Linked DNA regions of Homo sapiens: all the other regions are linked to region 1. The links are contacts of gene promoters, found by promoter capture Hi-C in human tissues and cell types (Jung and others, 2019). All regions are on one chromosome and are shown on one strand. The core of a region is centred on a gene start or on the middle of the fragment in contact, and the rest is flanking DNA. Distances in the headings are between cores, read along the strand shown.

What was found. The method cuts DNA at HindIII sites, captures the fragments that hold promoters and counts their contacts. A contact is called where the count stands out against the background at its distance.
Region 2: a fragment that was not itself captured here is called in contact with the fragment with the promoter of TPM3 in region 1 in 1 of the 25 tissues and cell types used here (psoas muscle).
Region 3: the fragment with the promoter of NUP210L here is called in contact with the fragment with the promoter of TPM3 in region 1 in 1 of the 25 tissues and cell types used here (adrenal gland).

The regions. Positions count from the first base shown.
Region 1 is chr1:154,190,086-154,194,141 of GRCh38, reverse strand. It overlaps TPM3 (tropomyosin 3), which reads left to right and starts at 2,042. Exons shown (of 10, transcript NM_152263.4): 1 at 2,042-2,240; 2 at 2,831-2,956. The coding sequence starts at 2,124. MIR190B (microRNA 190b) reads left to right here and starts at 399; the gene lies at 399-477. The HindIII fragment of the contact is 10,185 bases long and covers 1-4,056 here.
Region 2 is chr1:154,132,262-154,136,317 of GRCh38, reverse strand. It overlaps NUP210L (nucleoporin 210 like), which reads left to right. Exons shown (of 40, transcript NM_207308.3): 7 at 346-504. Among named protein-coding and RNA genes, the nearest start is that of NUP210L, 21 kb to the left of the region's middle. The HindIII fragment of the contact is 5,197 bases long and covers 1-4,056 here.
Region 3 is chr1:154,153,071-154,157,126 of GRCh38, reverse strand. NUP210L (nucleoporin 210 like) reads left to right here and starts at 2,054. Exons shown (of 40, transcript NM_207308.3): 1 at 2,054-2,285. The coding sequence starts at 2,083. It also overlaps a transcript of TPM3 not described here. RefSeq lists a silencer at 936-1,113 and enhancers at 1,720-2,220, 2,221-2,721. The HindIII fragment of the contact is 16,458 bases long and covers 1-4,056 here.

The DNA of each region.
Region 1 (4,056 bases), core at 793-3,292:
GCTGGAATGGCATTGAAGAGAGCAGGTGGCAATTTTGATGAGGAGCTGCTGACACGGCTGATCCTCTGGGCGCTGGGGCCGTGACATCAGGGTGAGAAGCTCTGTGTGGGAGCTCTAGGGAACGATAGTTGCCCGGATGTGGAGCCCTGCCAGGTATTCTTCCTGGTTTAGGCCAACGTGATCCAGCAAAGGCCAGGAGCTTGTAGAGGAGGAGCTGAGGCAGGGATGACACGTAGGACAATAAGCAAGAGCTGGCTGTCTTGGGAGGTGAAGAGCAGGAGCCAGTACCCTTCCTCAAGGAGATGGCTCTCCACCTAGACATGATTGGTGCCTGGTGTCTGCTCTATTCTTTCTTTGCAACTGGAAGGAAGGCAGATGACCCCCAAAGCTCTCCTGCCTGCTTCTGTGTGATATGTTTGATATTGGGTTGTTTAATTAGGAACCAACTAAATGTCAAACATATTCTTACAGCAGCAGGTGATTCAGCACCACCCTCTTTCATACTTCAATCTCTGGGGCTCCTGTCTCTTTTACTGAACCTCTTCTCTCCAGGACCCCCCCAAAAGTCCAGTAGCTGCAACCTATGTGCATTTCAATCTTAACCTAAGAGGGCTGGTGTGGGAATGGGAGAGAGTTGGAATTTGAGGATAGAATCTTTCTATTTCTTGTCCCCTTATACTAGAAGGGACATTTCTTTGCCTTTTCTTGTCCTCGTATTTTTCTCCCCCTTATTCACTTGCCCACCCCCCCCCCATTTTCCACTCCTTCCTCTCCCTGTTCCCTAACCCCTTTCCCTGGCTAATCTCCAGAGAAAGGAGACTTGGTTTCTCCTCTCTCTGTCGAGAGTCAGCTGATGGTCTATCTGCCTATCTACCTCTAGTGACTGGAAGCTCTCAATAGTGGACTCCAGCTCTGCTCTACCCACTGGCCTGGTGGGTGTCTCCGTTCCCCCATTGCTGGGGCTTAGCATTAACTCTCAGTATCCTGACATAAATGACTAACTAGAGCCATTTATATTTGTCCAATATATCTGGTCACCTTGAACAGTGCCCACCTCTCCCTTGGCATATTTTCAGGTGTATGGTGCCAGTGGACTGGTATCCTTGCCACCTGTTAGTAACAAGGCTCCCAATGGAAGAATAAACATGGTCTGGAACTAAACTGGAAAGAATAGAGCTGATAATGATGATTACGATGATGTGGTGAGTGGCAGCGTTGGGGAGAATTAAGAAGGGAGAAGATAAAGGGAAGAAGAGGAGAGAGCCACACAGACCAAAGTCTGTGTGGGTACAACAGTTCTATTTTAAGATTACTGTGGGAAAACAAAGGGTATGATCCTGTCTGGATTGTTCTGACCCTCCCCTGTTTCTCTCCCCACCCCACTTGAAGCTCTGGGATAGCCTTCAAGGATAGGGTTGGAGATTCCAACCCTACCTCTTACTCTACTCTTGTGGCTCTTGGTGGGGAGGAAAAACGTCTCCCTGCCAATCGGAGACTCCCAGAATAGCACAGCAATTTGATCTGGGGATCTGGGAGAATTGTTAAGGATCATGAGTGACCTCCCCTCTTCCCTGTGCCCAAGCTCCTTGAATACCAGGAATCAAAAGCTAAAACTCAACTAACGGAGTTTGACCAGCATTCAACACAGTCTGGGGGAGAGTGAAACGGGAAGCTGAAAGGCAACCAGGACCCCCTGGATGCAAACTGCCAACCTAGAATTGCCAAAGTACACTTCTCTATTTCAATGTTCTTCCCTCCCCTCTTCCTCTTCTTTTAAAACATCCATAGAGCTGCCCAGAATGAGTGGAAAGTTTCAGGGTCAGGGAGAACCTCTTCCCTCCCCCACTTTCCATTGTCTAAAATCAGCCTCAGCTGTTGCTAGATATTTTTTTTGCTGGTGATGTCAGTTCATCAAAGCGTCTCACCCTGTGTTCCCCCAGGAGAACAATGATGGGGTGGAGGGAGCTGGAAAGACCATATTAGGAACAAAAGGTGGAGCTATGAGCACAGATAAAGACTCAAGTCTGGGGACCTCCTGGTCACTCAGGCAGCAGCCCCTTCTTTCTTGCCCCAGTCTCCAGTTCTCCAGTGTTCACAGGTGAGCCTACCAACAGCCACTGCTCATGATGGAGGCCATCAAGAAAAAGATGCAGATGCTGAAGTTAGACAAGGAGAATGCTCTGGATCGGGCAGAGCAAGCTGAAGCTGAGCAGAAGCAGGCAGAAGAAAGAAGTAAACAGGTAGGCACTGGCATTGATCTCTCTCATCTGCTAGTGAACAAGACTGTGAAATGGAAGGGAGTTTTCATGGGAAAGACAGTGACTACTGGTGTCACCTCCTTTTTGGGGGTGGGATGGACTCCCCAGCCTCACTGGAGGAGCAGAGGATATCTAACATATCTGTCTCAGACTGCCTTTGTGACCTTGGGAAAGTCAGTGAGCCACAGTATGTCTGCTGAATTTAAGTAGAAATGGACCATGTTTTGGAAGAACCCTTGACTTCTAGAGGAAAAGGTAAGAGTTCTAGAGGGAAAGAGCATCTCTTTTCACTCAAATAGCATCACGGGCATCTACACTTTAGATATTTATCATCCAGGGGTCTTGGATGAAAACCCAGGATGGCTTGGTCATCTTAGGATCAGAGATTACAGGGTCACAGGCCAAGCTACGGCATAACTCCTGAGGCAGTGGGCTGGAAGTGGCTGGGGAGAAAGTGTGTCTCACTAGGGATGGTAACATGGAGGTTACACTCAGGGCTCCAAGAGCCCAGGGTCCAACCCTGCATTGTTGTGTTTGTGTGTTTTTGTGTGTGACTCTCTGGGCTCCTATAGCTGGAGGATGAGCTGGCAGCCATGCAGAAGAAGCTGAAAGGGACAGAGGATGAGCTGGACAAGTATTCTGAAGCTTTGAAGGATGCCCAGGAGAAGCTGGAACTGGCAGAGAAGAAGGCTGCTGATGTGAGTATTAGAGAGATGGAGGATGGGTTTAATCTACACATATAGATCTTTATGTTAATGTATGACGAAATTCCAAACACACTTGTGGGTTCATGGAACACAGACATATATACTCACATACATTTTTGCATATAACCACATGCTGGTATATTCTCATAATGGCATGTATTTTCTTTCTTAAAGACATCTCCAACATGTTAAAAGTTTTTTTTTAATACATGTAAAGGTCTCATTTATCTCCTATCACCAACCCAGGAATTTAATTATCTTTCCCAGGACCTGGACAAAGAGAGGGGACTCTAAGTTCAGAATGCTGTCACTTATCCTACCTCCTCCCCCATGCCACATTCTTAGCTTTTATGTCCAAGTCTTGGCATGTGGATATGTGTATTAATAGGGAACCTCTCATCTCTCAACTGTCCAACAAAACCAGCTCGGATTTCACAATGGGAAATGGAGGTCACACTGACCCTGGCCATATATGGGTTTATTTATCTTGGCCAATGCAGGCATTTGCCTTTATGCCATGGAGATGCCATATGAAGCATTGCTCCTAGGGCAGCAGAGAGATCCCTACAGTGACAGAGTATAATAGAAACTAAGAAAGAATCTTAGGGGGTAAAGGTATCACCACCAGACTTCACTCTATGACCGTGAGTAATTACTCAGCTTGTCTAGGGCTGAATTTTCCCATTCTCAAATAAAATAAATTCTCTTTTCCATCTCATATTATCCCATCATCATCACCTACTTTCCTTCATCTTTAACCTTGAAGTTTGCTGCAAAGATAAATGAGAGAGTAGATTGAAAAGTTTTTTAGAAGAAAAGTACCATAGGAATCTTACCAACAACAACAGAAATGTCCCAGTATTGGTGGAAACAAGTTTCTCAGTGAACTGAGTTAATAGGAAAAAAGGAGCATGTAATATTTAAAATCATATTTGGGCTGGGTGCGGTGGCTCACGCCTGTAATCCCAGCACTTTGGAAGGCCGAGGCGGGTGGATCACCTGAGGTCAAGAGTTTGAGACCAGCCTGGCCAACATGGTGAAACCCTGTCTCTAGTAAAAATACAAAAATTAGCCAGGTGTGGTGGCGGGTG
Region 2 (4,056 bases), core at 634-3,133, 58 kb after region 1:
ATCACGCCCGGCTAATTTTGGTATTTTTAGTAGAGACGGGGTTTCACCATGTTGGCCAGGCTGGTCTCGAACTCCTAACTTCAGGTGATCCACCCGCCTTGGCCTCCCAAAGTGCTGGGATTACAGGCGGAGCCACCACACCCAGCCTCCAGCAATATATTTTAACTCATATACTCCCCCCAAATGGTTACATGTAGAAATTCATCATAGCAGGAAAAACATTAGAAGCAGATCATACTCTTATTTTATGTCTGCTTCCTGATCATTCCTTTATGATCAAGAATACATCATTATCTACTGGAATGGCTGCTGTCATTACATTTATGTATCTTTCATGTCTTACAGAGGTGAAATTTCCCCTGGAACATTATATACTGGAATTGCAAGACCATAGAGTTGCACTTAACGGGTCTCATTCTGAGAAAGTGGCTATACTGGATGACAAAACAGCCATGGTGACTGCCTCACAACTGGGCCAGACTAATCTTGTCTTTGTCCATAAAAGTATCCTTTTGTTCAAGTTTTAGCTGCCAGTCTACACTTCCTTGAGCATCCTAGACATGTTCTTTGGTAAAATAATTTATTAAGAATGATTATGGCCGGGCGCGGTGGCTCACGCCTGTAATTCCAGCACTTTGGGAGGCCGAGGCGGGCTGATCACAAGGTCAGGAGATCGAGACCATCCTGGCTAACACGGTGAAACCCTGACTCTACTAAAAATACTAAAAATTAGCCAGGCGTGGTGGCGGGCGCCTGTAGTCCCAGCTACTCGGGAGGCTGAGGCAGGAGAATGGTGTGAACCCGGGAGGCAGAGGTTGCAGTGAGCCAAAATCGTGCCACTGCACTCCAACCTGGGCGGCACAGCGAGACTCCGTCTCAAAAAAAAAAAAAAGATTATAATACTACTACAGTGTTTTCCTATAGGTTTTATTTTTAATAAAGAATTATAAGTTATTACTGTCATAATTTCTAGCAGAGTAAGTAGAGAAAAGGAGTATAGTTGGAACTTGGGATCTACTAACTTCAATGCTTATTTGCAACCTCAATCAAATTGTAATTAGGGAAATAAAAAAACTGTAATTAGGGGAATGGGGAAAACGGAGTTTGGAAGAACATGTGAGAATTTTATTTAATTCTCTTTTCTATTTGTACATGATAATTGAGAAAATATGCTATTGTCTCCAGTAGATGTTTAACTAATATTTTTATTGTGTTGAGAGCAATTTTTAAAAATTCACTAAACCTGCTATGCAAGGATTGAACAAAGAAAGGTACACAGAGGCCGGGCGTGGTGGCTCACGCATGTAATCCCAGCACTTTGGGAGGCCGAGGCCGGCTGATCACCTGAGGTCGGGAGTTTGAGAACAGCTTGACCAACATGAAGAAACCCCGTCTCTACTAAAAATACAAAAATTAGCCGGGCGTGGTGGTGCATGCCTGTAATCCCAGCTACTCGGGAGGCTGAGGCAGGAGAATCGCTTGAACCCCCGGGAAGTGGAGGTTGCGGTGAGCCAAGATCGCACCACTGCACTCCAGCCTGGGCAACAAGAGCAAAACTCCATCTTTTTTTTTTTTTTTTTTTTGAGACGGAGTCTCGCTGTCGCCCAGGCCGGAGTGCAGTGGCGCAATCTCGGCTCACTGCAGGCTCCGCCCCCGGGGTTCACGCCGTTCTCCTGCCTCAGCCTCCCGAGTAGCTGGGACTACAGGCGCCCGTCACCTCGCCCAGCTAATTTTTTGTATTTTTAGTAGAGACGGGGTTTCACTGTGTTAGCCAGGATGGTCTCGATCTCCTGACCTTGTGATCTGCCCGCCTCGGCCTCCCAAAGTGCTGGGATTACAGGCGTGAGCCACCGCGCCCGGCCTGAAACTCCATCTCAAAAAAAAAAAAAAAAAAGGTACACGGAGATCTGTAATAGTCAATGAAAACAGAAGAGAATGAAGATTTAAATTCTCAGAAAATTGAAATATGATTTGGACTCCATCTCTCTGTGTTTTATTTGGTATTTTTTTTGAATATTTTAATCTGAAAGAAATTCATTCAGCAAATATCTATTATATTTCTACTATATGCTCAACATTGTTCTAAGCTCTGGGTATACAAATTGCCATTTTGTCCAGTATAGTTAGATTCTTAAAATATTATTATTATTATTATTATTTTTTTTTTGAGGTGGAGTTTTGCTCTTGTTGCCCAAGCTGGAGTGCAGTGGCGCGATTTCTGCTCACTCCCACCTCCGCCTCCCAGGTTCGAGTTATTCTCCTGCCTCGGCCTCCTAAGCAGCTGGGATTACAGGTGTGCGCCACCATGCCCGGCTAATTTTTGTATTTTTAGTAGAGATGGGGTTTCACCATGTTGGCCAGGCTGGACTTGAACTCCTGACCTCAGATGATCCACCCACTTCGGCCTTCCACAGTGCTGGGATTACAGGCATGAGCCACTGTGCCTGGCCAAAAAATTATTATTTTTGTAGAGACAGGGTCTCACTCTGTTGCCCAGGCTGGAGTGCAGTGGTGCAATCTTGGCTCTTGGCTCACTGCAACCTGTAAACTCCAGGCTCAAGTGATCCTCCCAGCTCAGCCTCCCAAGTAGCTGGGACCACAGGCACGTGCCACCACGCCCAGCTAATTTTTGTATTTTTTTATAGACACAAGGTCTCGCCATGTTGCCCACACTGCTCTTGAACTCCTGGACTCAAGCGATTCACCTGCCTTGGCCTCCCAAAGTGCTAGGATTCCAGGCATGAGCCACCACACCCAGCCAGATTTTTTTTTTTTTTTTTAGAGATAGAGTCTCACTCTGATGCCCAGGTTAGAGTGCAGAGGCATGATCATAACTCATAGTAGCCTTGAGCAATCCTCCCACCTCAGCCTTCTGAGTAGCTGGGACTATAGGCATACACCACCGTGCCATACTAATTGTGTCTTTTTTTGTAGAGATGTCTTGCTAGGCTGAGTAGGCTGGATGAACTACTGGCCTTAAATGAACCTCCTGCCTAGGCCTCCCAAAGTGCTTGGATTACAGGTGTGATCCACCACACCCAGTCTTTACCTAGCATAGTTAGAAAAGTCCTCTCTGATGAGGCGACACTGGCACAATAAGCCATGTGGATAATTGGTGAAAGACTTCTAGGGAAAGGAAAGAGCAATGGCAAAGGTTCTGAAGTAGGAACATATTTGGCATGATTAAAGAAGAGTAAGGAAGACAGTGAAGCTAAAGTGCAGTGAATCAGGAAATAGTAGAAGTAATAGAGTAGGGGAGGGGCAGATTAGGTAGGGCCTAGTAGGCTTACTCTGAATAAGAATGTCTCTACTTTGGGCACACTGTCTATAGCGTAGCCCTGCTCCAAAAGGAGCAGTACCTCTGCTACTCCACTTCAAGAAAAGTTGCCAACACCAAAAAAATTCTATCAGACTTGAAAGGTACAGTATTTCTTGTATAATATTGTTAGTTAGCAGCCTATATTATTTGTCTAACACACATTAAGGAGAGTTATTGATCCAATGTTGTTTGCTTTTTAGTCATTTTAAGGTACCTAGGACATTTTTCAACAAATACAATCATACCTACAAAATAAATTAAGTTATTCAATATTTATTGAGCCCCAACTGTGTGTCAGGAACTTCCCTGAATTCCCCAGGTGAACTTAAATGTTCTTTTTTTCCCCCATATTTTCAGTTCATATTGTTATTTTTTTCCAAAGTATCAAATATTAAAATACATTGTATTTGTCTGTTTATTTATCTTTTTTGAGGACATGGATGGTGACTATTCATAATATGTCCCAGCACCTGGCATAGAGTAGCTGGTGGAACTGTTCATGGAGATGGAGAATATAAGAGAAAGAGCAGTTTTAAGGAAAAAGATAGCGAGTTCAGTTTTTCACATGTTAAATTAAAACATCAAAACTGTGGGATAGATATCCAAGCAGAAATTTTCATTATGCCTCCGGAGGAGAAAGATTGAGGATCAAGATAGATCCTCAAGGATCAAGAAAGATTGAGGATCAAGATAGATATTTGAAAGTTAGTTTATAGATAGGTGATAGTTGGAGCTAT
Region 3 (4,056 bases), core at 805-3,304, 37 kb after region 1:
AAAGTACTAGCTAAACCAGAAAGGTGATTCCAGGAGGAGTTAGCCAAACAACAACAAAAACAAAAAATGTGCTGTTCAAGTTTTCAGCTTTAAGATATCTTTGGATAATGTTATTTCTATTTTTTATTTTTTTCATTAGAAGTTACCAAATTAAGATGGTAAGACCTCTGAGACCAAAATTTTGTCCCATCTCTACCCCCTCACAACTGCTTACAGAATGGATCATGTCCCCCTTATGTTGAGGTGACCACTTAATTGCTTTCCTGCCTCCTTGAAAGAAAGAAAGAAAGAAGACTGTGTTTTTGCCACTGATTTAGCCATGTGAAACTCATCTCATTACCCTTTTCTGGGTTTGAAGCTGCTGTCTCTAGAAGTGCCATCTCAATTGTGCTTTGTATCAGTCAGTGCTGGAGAAATCTTGAATAGCTTATGTACAAAACTTTTTAAATTTTATATTATTTTGAAACTTTGCTTTGGGTTTGTGGCACCCTGGCCACCCCATCTGGCTGTGACAGCCTCTGCAGTCCGTGGGCTGGCAGTTTGTTGATCTTTTAAGTTTCCTTCCCTACCCAGTCCCCATTTTCTGGTAAGGTTTCTAGGAGGTCTGTTAGGTGTACATCCTGCAGCTTATTGGCTTAAAATGTACTCTCCTTTTATGTGGTCTCTTTGGGGCCGATTGGGAGAAAGAGAAATCAATAGTGCAACTGTTTTGATACTGAATATTGACAAGTGTCTTTTTGAAATAAAGAACCAGTCCCTCCAACCCTCAGACCTATTTGACTTTTATTTATTAAAACTAAATGTGCTTTCTCCACAGAAGCTATGAGGTTTGGGTTAAAAATAGCATCTTTGTGGGTGGTAGCAACAGGATTTATTCTTTATTATTATTATTTTTGAGATGAAGTTTCATTCTTGTTGCCTGGGCTGGAGCGTAATGGCTCGATCTCGGCTCACTGCAACCTCCGCCTCCTGGTTCAAGAGATTCTCCTGCCTCAGCCTCCCGAGTAGCTGGGATTACAGGCACCTGCCACCATGCCCGGGTAATTTTTTATATTTTAAGTAGAGACAGGGCTTCACCATGTTGGCCAGGCTGGTCTCGAACTCCTGACCTTCAGGTGATCCACCTGCCTCAGCTTCCCAAAATGCTGGGATTACGGGCGTGAGCCACCGCACCCAGCTGGAGCAACAGGATTTAATATAGAGCAAATGTTTAGTTTTATCATCTGTAAAATGGAGATAAGTATTGTCAGAGTAAACATGAAGATTAGAAAGAACACTTAATGTGCTGGGCCTTTTATAGGTTAACACTGACATCTCAGGCTGAACTATATACATTTTCCTTCACAACCATATCAATCCTTATAAACTATGGATTTATGCTCCTTAAAACAATATATAATGCTGATCACTACTATAAATGCGTGGTTTTAACCAACTGTACTGAAACAGCTTTGAGTTTATATTCTGTTTGGATATTTGGAGAAAACAACAAGTGCTCTCAAGAGTATTTGCTTAGAGGCCGGCTGTGTGAGTGGATAACTTTGAAAGCTGCTTTTGAGACGCCAGTGTCTGGCATTTCCTGCATTCTGGCCTGGAGGCCGGACGTGAATCTGACTTCTAGTAAAAATACACGGTTCCCTTGACAAAGTCGAGCTGTTTATCCCAGAGACTGCACAATTTTCCGTTGATAGGCATGGACCAATGCTAACTGGAAATCATTGCAAAAAGTTTTTTTGTCGGGCGGAGGGTGTGGTGTTAAGATAAACAGTGTGCAACAGAAGAAATTAAAACTGGAAGAAATTAAAGGGTTTTTTTTAGACTTTTCTGCTTGTTCCTTACTGTTAAAAAGGTCTGCCATCCAGTATTTAGGAAAGCCCTTTAAGAGAGTTTGAGGTGTTTTAGCTGGGTTTGTGCCAAAAGTTTCCATTATATTGGCTTGCTGAAGGACTGCATTTAAAAATGCCCACACATCCGAGCAAGAAGCAGGTCCCATCCCCCTCTGCTGACGTCACGCCTGTGGATTGGCTGATGGAGCTGTGAGCCGGCTGTAGTTGAGCGGGAACCCGAGACCTGGCAGTCGCCATGACTGGCTGTCCGGCGTCATCAAGACGCCGAGGCTTCGGGCTCTTTTTCTTCTTGCGTCTACACCGCCTCCTGTTGTTGTTTCTGGTTTTGCGTGGGACCCTGGCCAACAAACTTAACGTGCCACAGGTGTTGCTACCCTTCGGCCGAGAGCCAGGCCGGGTGCCTTTCCTGCTGGAGGCCCAGCGGGGCTGCTACACTTGGTGAGGGGTGGTGGGTGACAAGGATATGCACCCTCACTACCATCCAGTAAGGGTGAGGGGGGTTCCCTCTGTAAGATCCCACAGGAATACCGTGTGGGGCCGCGTGAAGGGGCCTAGCCGGTAGGGGAGGAGAGTGTGGTGTCAGTGAAGGTGGCGAGGAGCAGACCCTTGGGTGTGGCGTGTCCTACTCATGTGGTATATCCTCCAGCTGTGTGACAATCTTCCAGACGTGTGAGGAATTCTCGGGATGTGGGACTGGCCTCTTCTCTGTGTGTGTTGGGAAGGGGTGGTCACTATGAGCAGCCGTCAGGGTAAAGGGAAGCCCTGTGTTGGAGGCCACAGGTACTGATGACTTCCAATGTAAACAACTAGAGTAAGAGGAAGTTCCCCATATCTGAGGAAATTTCTGTAGGAACAGGAAAACTTGGGGTGCGAGGGTCCCCACTAACTATAGATGAGCTATTCAATGTGAGAAGGACTTAAAACACAACAGCCAAGTATTGGGGGTTAACTAAGCACTTTACATGTGTTAACTCATTCGCTTTTTGCAGTCTTATGAAGTAAGTACTATTACTCCCATTTCACAGACGAGGAAAGTGAGGCCCAGAGACTATGAAGTGTAAACTTCTGGGAATATGAGAAGATTTATCGTGGGTGGAGATGAGATCTGTCTGTATTATCAAAATTGCCCCATTTATAAAAGGGTACCCGCTTGAAGTGTGAGGACAGGGGGTACACACAACTCCGGGATAATGACTTCCTGACTGAAGATGAAGAGACATGATTTTCTGGTGTGAGAGGACCCAATGATGGGTTATGTGGTTGCCTAAGGTATGAGAGAACCTAACCGAAGTGAGCTTCAGGATGCCAGTGCATTCATCCTAGATGGAGTAGATACCCCTTTGCCATCTCCTAGGAGAAGCAATGAGGTTTGTTCCGAGTATAAATTCACCTCTCATTTTATGAGGAAGTATAAGGAAAGTGAGCTTGTAAGATGATCCAGTGTGACGTGTGTGTTTCCTGACCGTGAGGGTGATGCAAGGCATCTTTCCAGCATTGAAAGCCATTTCTTCTATCACTCCAAAAATATTAATGAGGCCAGGCATGGTGGCTCACGCCTGTAATCCCAGCACTTTGGGAGGCCAAGGCAGGAGGATTACTTGAGGCCAGGAGTTTGAGACCAGCCGGATCAACATAGTGAGACCCCGTCTCTATTTAAAATAAAAACATTCGGCCGGGCGCAGTGGCTCACGCCTGTAATCCCAGCACTTTGGGAGGCCGGGGCAGGCAGATCACTTGAAGTCAGGAGTTCAAGACCAGCCTGGCCAACATGATGAAAGCCCATCCCTACTAAAAATACAAAAATTAGTCGGGCATAGTGGCAGACACCTGTAATCTCAGCTACTCGAGAGGCTGAGGCAGGAGAATCGCTTGAACCCTGGAGGCGAATGTTGCAGTGAGCTGAGATCGCCCTGCTGCACTTCAGCTTGGGCAACAAAGTGACTCGGTCTCAAAAACATAATAATAAATAAGAATAAAAATATTTATGAATGTTTTTGGTATTTTGAGTTGGACTCACACCTCATAATTTAGGCACCTTTTCCATCCTAGATATCAGAAGCCTGGTTTCTAGGATTGAAGGAAACTTTCCTCAGAGTATGAGAAAGTCCCCTCTCATTACTAGAAACACATCAGTCGTATTTCTGCATACTGAGGGAAGAATATAAAAATCTTTTAAAAAAAATTGAGGGAGGGATATTTCTGGGACTTT